Regions from separate parts of the Homo sapiens genome. Here region 1 is linked to region 2. Evidence: promoter capture Hi-C in 16 types of primary human blood cells and fetal thymus (Javierre and others, 2016). All regions are on one chromosome and are shown on one strand. The core of a region is centred on a gene start or on the middle of the fragment in contact, and the rest is flanking DNA. Distances in the headings are between cores, read along the strand shown. Region 1 has its middle 44 kb from the start of GLIPR1. Region 2 holds the start of GLIPR1 (GLI pathogenesis related 1).

The links. The method cuts DNA at HindIII sites, captures the fragments that hold promoters and counts their contacts. A CHiCAGO score of 5 or more calls a contact.
Region 1: a contact is called between a fragment that was not itself captured here and the fragment with the promoter of GLIPR1 in region 2, in 1 of 17 cell types (total B cells). The highest score is 5.2, in total B cells.

What each region holds. Positions count from the first base shown.
Region 1 is chr12:75,435,676-75,438,671 of GRCh38, forward strand. No RefSeq gene overlaps it. Among named protein-coding and RNA genes, the nearest start is that of GLIPR1, 44 kb to the right of the region's middle. The HindIII fragment of the contact is 586 bases long and covers 1,415-2,000 here.
Region 2 is chr12:75,479,475-75,482,620 of GRCh38, forward strand. GLIPR1 (GLI pathogenesis related 1) reads left to right here and starts at 1,281. Exons shown (of 6, transcript NM_006851.3): 1 at 1,281-1,580; 2 at 2,360-2,605. The coding sequence starts at 1,407. The HindIII fragment of the contact is 5,495 bases long and covers 1-3,146 here.

The DNA.
Region 1 (2,996 bases), core at 458-2,957, 43 kb before region 2:
TGCAAGCTCCGCCTCCCGGGTTCATGCGATTCTCCTGCCTCAGCCTCCCGAGTAGCTGGGACTACAGGTGCCCACCACCATGTCCGGCTAATTTTTTGCATTTTTAGTAGAGACAGAGTTTCACCATGTTAGCCAGGATGGTCTCGATCTCCTGACCTCGTGATCCGCCTGCCTCGGCCTCCCAAAGTGCTGGGATTACAGGCGTGAGCCACCGCACCCGGCCTCACCACTATTATTTTATTGCTGTTGATCTCTTTTCTTACATCTAGGAATATTAGTTTTATGAATCTGGGTGCTCCAGTTTGGGGTACATATATACTTAAGGTTGTTATATCTCCTTATTGAATTGATCCCTTTATCATTATATAATGATCTTCTTTGTCTTTTTTTTTTTTTTTTTTTTTTTACTGTTGTTGATTTAAAGTCTATTTTATCTGATATAAGTATAGCTACTCCTGCTCACTTTTGGTTTCCATTTGCATGGGATATTTTTCTCACCCCTGTACTTTGAGTCTTTACTCATTAGGTGGCATTCTTGTAAGCAGCATATGGTTGAATTTGTCTTTTTATTCAATTCACCAGTCTAAATTTTTAAAGTGGAGCATTCAGTTCATTGACATTCAAGATTAATATTGATATGTGAGGTTTTATTCTTGTCATAATGTTAATTGTTACCTAGTTGCTTTCTAGTCTTATAATTGCTTTATAAGACCCATGAGTTTTCTTTTGTGTTCTTTTATAATGGCAAATATTATCCTTTTGTTTCTATGTTTAGAATTTCTGTGAGAATTTCTTTTAGGGCCAGGCTAGTGTTAACAAATTCCCTTAGCATTTGCATGTCTGAGAACTACTTCATTTATCCTTCATTTATGAAACTTGGCTTAGGAGGATACAGAATTCTTGGCTGGCAGTTCCTTTCTTTAAGAAGATTAAAAATGGAACCCCAATGTCCTCTGACTTGTAAGGTTTATGCTGAGAAGTCTGCTGTTAGTCTGATGGGATTTCCTTTATAAGTTATTATATGTTTCTCTCCTGCTGCTTTTAGGATTTTTTCCTTCACATTGACTTGAATAGTCTGAAGACTATATACCTTGATGAGGTATATCTTGTAGAGTATCTTCTAGGGATTCTCTTTGCTTCTTGTATCTGAATGCCTAATTCTCTAGCAAGACTAGGGACGGTTTCCCAAATTGTTCCCTTGGATAGGTTTTCCAAGCTTTTTACTTCTTCTTCTTCTTGCTTAAGATTGCCTATAACTCATAGGTTTGGTCACTTTACATAATCCCATATTTCTTGAAGGCTTTGTTTATTTATTTTATTTTATTTTTTAAATTTTTGTCTGCCTAGGTTAAATCAAAGGATTGGTCTTCGAGCTCTAAAAGTCTTTCTTATGCTTGTTCCAGTCTATTGTTAAAGCTTTCAGTTGTATTTTGTAACTCCTTCAATAATTTTTTTTATTTCCAGAAGTTCAGTTTGCTTTTTAATATGTATTTCTTTAGTAATTGTTTATTCATATTCTGAGTTTTTTTCTGATTTCGTGTTGGTTTTCAACTTTATCTTGGACCTCATTGAGCTTCCTTACAATACATATTTTAAATTCTTTATCTGTCATTTTAGAATTTTCATTTTGATTAAGATCCATTGCTAGAGAGCTAGTATGATCCTTTGGGAGTGTTGAAACACTGGTTTTTTATACTGTTGGAATTCTTACGCTGATTCCTTCTCATCTGAGGAAGCTATCATTTTTTATTTTTGAATTTACTTTCTTTTGAATGACACTTTTTTTCCCTCGAGGGTGTGACTGTAGTAATGTATATTGTGTATAATCATTTGGCTTTGATTCTGGGTGCTTTCAGTGAGCCAAGGTTCTGTATGAGTTCCTTAGTTATAGATAGCTTTTGTGTGGTGGCTTTCTTAAATGCTGATTGTAGTAGCAATGTATTGGGTATATAAGCAGGCTCACTACCTTCTGCCGGGCTGAGAGTGCAGAGGCCTCAGGAAGCTTATCTCATTCCCTAGCACTGTGCTCTTCAGTCAGCAGGTTTTATATTTGGTTGGGCACTTCAATTTCCAGTCCAGTAGGTGGTGCTTATGGGTAAAAGCTGGCTACCACAGAGGTTGATGCCTATGTTCTTTTTCTTTGTTCACTGGGAGGGGATTTCTGTTGTCACAGGCAGTTGGCTGGTCTGTGGACTACTCAATGCCCTGAGTTCCTCACTCAGCCCAGAGCAAGGGACAAATTTGGGCAGAGCTGGACTTCCAAACTCGTCTTTGAATACCCCAGTTACTAGTGGAAGCACCCACCCTGATGGGGCAGGGGGGCAGAGAGGGGCTCAGGGTCCTGAGGTCTCCACTATGGGGGGATAAAGGAGGCTGCACTAAACAAGAAGACAGTCTGCTTCCCTATCACACACCTGTCCAGGGGCTTTTGTTATTTGGTTCAAATAGATATTGTCCTTATCCTCAGCCCACAATTCAGCTGAGGTCAAGAAACATTCCCATTCCATGGCTACTCCTGAAATGGCCTTGGGGCAGAACCTCTTCCCTCAAACCTTAACAGACAGCTCTGCAACTCACTTGCACTCTGCCATAGGAATGCGAATGCTCCACATTGGGATGGGCCCCACCCTTTGTGCAAGCTTAGGCCAGTAGGCACACCATCTGTGGGGGTGAATTAACCCTCAATAGCCCTAGAAATGTTCTCCCCAGGTGCTGTTGTGCCAATTCCCAGCAGGGACAGCTGCTACTGTGTCAATTCCCAGCAGGGACATCCACAGCAGTAGATGAGGGGTGGAGGAGACCTTATTTCCACATCCGTTCCAGGCACTGGTACTGCCTGGCTGCTGTGGTGGAACCACCCTCCTCCCCTACAGAGCCCAACACCACACCCATTTCTCCGCTGGGAGGGGCACAATCATCGTCTTCTCACAAGCAGGGAGCTCTCAGGCAGATGAGAGTGCACAGTCTGGTTTCCTTTGTCCCAAAGGGTGCTTTGG
Region 2 (3,146 bases), core at 31-2,530:
AAAACCAGGTCTAAACCCCACCTACAGCTAAAATCCTCCAATAACTTCCCATGACTTTGGTGATAAAATAAAAAATCATTAGCAGAATTGAGAAATCCTTCCTGATCTGACTCTTAACTTCTCTCCCCCAAGTGGCATGAAAGCATCATTTGGATTCTGAATTCCATGACACCAGGTATCAAGTTTTCTACCAGTCAGAATCACTACTTATTTACAGACCATATTTACAGAGGGAGACAATATGGAGAGGTTCTTGCTCTATTCTTGCCATAACACCATGTCTTCAATTTCACAACTAGATATATAGTTCCTATCCCTCTAATTCCCTTCTCCTCTCCAGCGCTTTTTCACTTGATCAACACCTAGCTGATTCTAGCCTCAGCAAAGACCTCACCTGCTGTATGTAGGCCGGCTCTGCCGTTTCCAGAATGGGTTAAGTATGCTCTCTTGTGTGTCCATATCTACCTGTGCTTTCCTATATCCAGATCTCCAACAGCCCCTGTTGTAACATCCTTGTCATCACCATCTCACAGCTCTTACCACTGTAAGCTCCTTGGGGCCAGTGACTGTGTTTTTATTTCTGTATTACTAAGGTGAATATACAAGGCAGGAATTTAATATTAGCTAGTTCATTTGATCCTGCCAAACCTCTGTAATTAAGGAAGCAGAAAAGGTCCCATAGTCTCATTCAATAGGTGGCTGAGGTTTAGAGAGTTTTGTATCCTGTCCAAGGTCTTACAGCTAGTTAGAAACAGAAACTAAATTCTCAACTTGAGTCCTGTATTCTTTCTACTATTCTCCCTCTCAATCCCTCTCTCTCTTTCTCTCTCTCTCTCTTTCTCTCCCTCTCTCTCTCTCACACACACACACACACACACACATACACGCTTACATGTTTCTACCATCGTGAATGAATTCTAGGTCAAGTTTATGATGTTAACCAGATATTCCAACCACTATGTGTTGATATGACTCTAAAAAGAAAAAGATTTCTGAAAGCATTTTGCGAGGCATTTATAGAAGTAAGAGATATTTTCATTTTATCACCGCAACCTCCATTAAAAATTGGAGACTATTATTCCTGGAGACTTCAGAATTTTCTTTGGAAATATCTCCCAATTCAAAAGGAAGTCTGACACAGCCTCATAAAAATCTATGTCGTAATAGGTGCTGTGTCACTGAAAACCACTGAAAAGACAGGGTTAAGAACACAAAGTGAGCTGCACACCATATATGGAGAAACCCGTTTCTTAAAACTAGTGATGAACTCATGCTCTGTTCTGTTTTCTCAAAGCTGAAGTCGGCTAGGTTTGCAAAGCTGTGGGCTGAGCACTCAGGCAATCACACTCTCAGAAACTGCGGCGGCTCTGGACTGCAGCCTCCCAAGGCTCCATGCCAGACAAAGCATGCGTGTCACACTTGCTACAATAGCCTGGATGGTTTCTTTTGTCTCCAATTATTCACACACAGCAAATATTTTGCCAGATATCGAAAATGAAGATTTCATCAAAGACTGCGTTCGAATCCATAACAAGTTCCGATCAGAGGTGAAACCAACAGCCAGTGATATGCTATACATGGTAAGGAAAATATCATTAATTGTGGCGTCAGTCAGTCAGAAACAACTAATGTGTATTGACTTTGGTGTTAATACCTTCGTAATACTGAATGATTTTTTTTTCATTGTGATTAATGTATGCAGTAAATTCACAGTCTGTGATCAAAACACATCCAGTTTAGCTCTGTCTACCCAACTGTTGTTATAAGCAAGTGCCACAGCACATTTTACTTCTCTTTGGACACTTCCTGTTTTCTGGTTTTCAGTGGATTTTACTTCTCTTTTTGTTATCTTCCTCCCTGTTAATTTTTGTGATTTGGTTTTCTTTTTTTTTTTTTTTTTTTGTCTCTAAATTTACTTTTTTTGCTGCTGACAAAGTACTGAGTTGCTCAGGTAGGCAGAATGGCATCTGGGGAAAGGATGGGATTTTGATTCAGTAAGGCTTGGGATTGAATTTCAGATCTGTGGCTTTAAGCTGGTTTTTAACCTTTCTGAACTTCTTAGGATATGGGCTGTTGTGGTTATGGAATAATGTTGTGAAACACGGCACACACTATTTTGCCCACAATTAGCCTTCAGTGAAATGTCAGTTTTCCTCACTTAGATTCTAAATTCCATGAAACTAAATTGTCACGTTTCCTACCAGCCCTACTCAGTGCTTGAAGACCATATTTATAGAGGACTCATATGCAGTGGTATCTTCTCTCCTTATCTCACCTCGTTTTCCATTCAAATTCCCACTGTACTCACCCCAGTTACATTTCAGATGAACCCCCTATTGTTTAATGTTTATTTTTGCAGACTTGGGACCCAGCACTAGCCCAAATTGCAAAAGCATGGGCCAGCAATTGCCAGTTTTCACATAATACACGGCTGAAGCCACCCCACAAGCTGCACCCAAACTTCACTTCACTGGGAGAGAACATCTGGACTGGGTCTGTGCCCATTTTTTCTGTGTCTTCCGCCATCACAAACTGGTATGACGAAATCCAGGACTATGACTTCAAGACTCGGATATGCAAAAAAGTCTGTGGCCACTACACTCAGGTAAGGATCTGCCCTATATTATCTTGAAACTGTCTTTTCAAGTATGAGGAGAAAAATTGTACTATGAAGTTAAGAAAATGTATAGTATGCTAGTATACCTGTAAATATAAGGGAGTTAAATAGAACAGCCTCCAAGAACAGAAAATAATGCTTGAAAAGTTTAGTTGTGTGAACTAAACACATAATAGGTAATATGTGAGGCCCACCAACTTGGACAGGCTTTGAACAATTCCTGTAACAGCTATTCTCCCATAGGACTTTATTCCATTTGTGAGAAATCAAAGAACCTTATGAGTGAAAGGATTTTCAGGTTCCAGCTGTAGCATGAGTTTTAAATGAAATTTGAGCCAATTGTTTTGGGACTATAAAATTGGAAGAAACAAGACTCTCAGACAGAAACATCAATAAGAACTGATGCTTCCACAACCTCTCATTCTCTCAAACATCGACTGAAAACCTACTGTGTGCCATGCACTAGGCACCACGCACGGTGCTACACAAGGAGGGAGAAAAAGTCAGTCCCAGGCCAACAGAGAGGCCA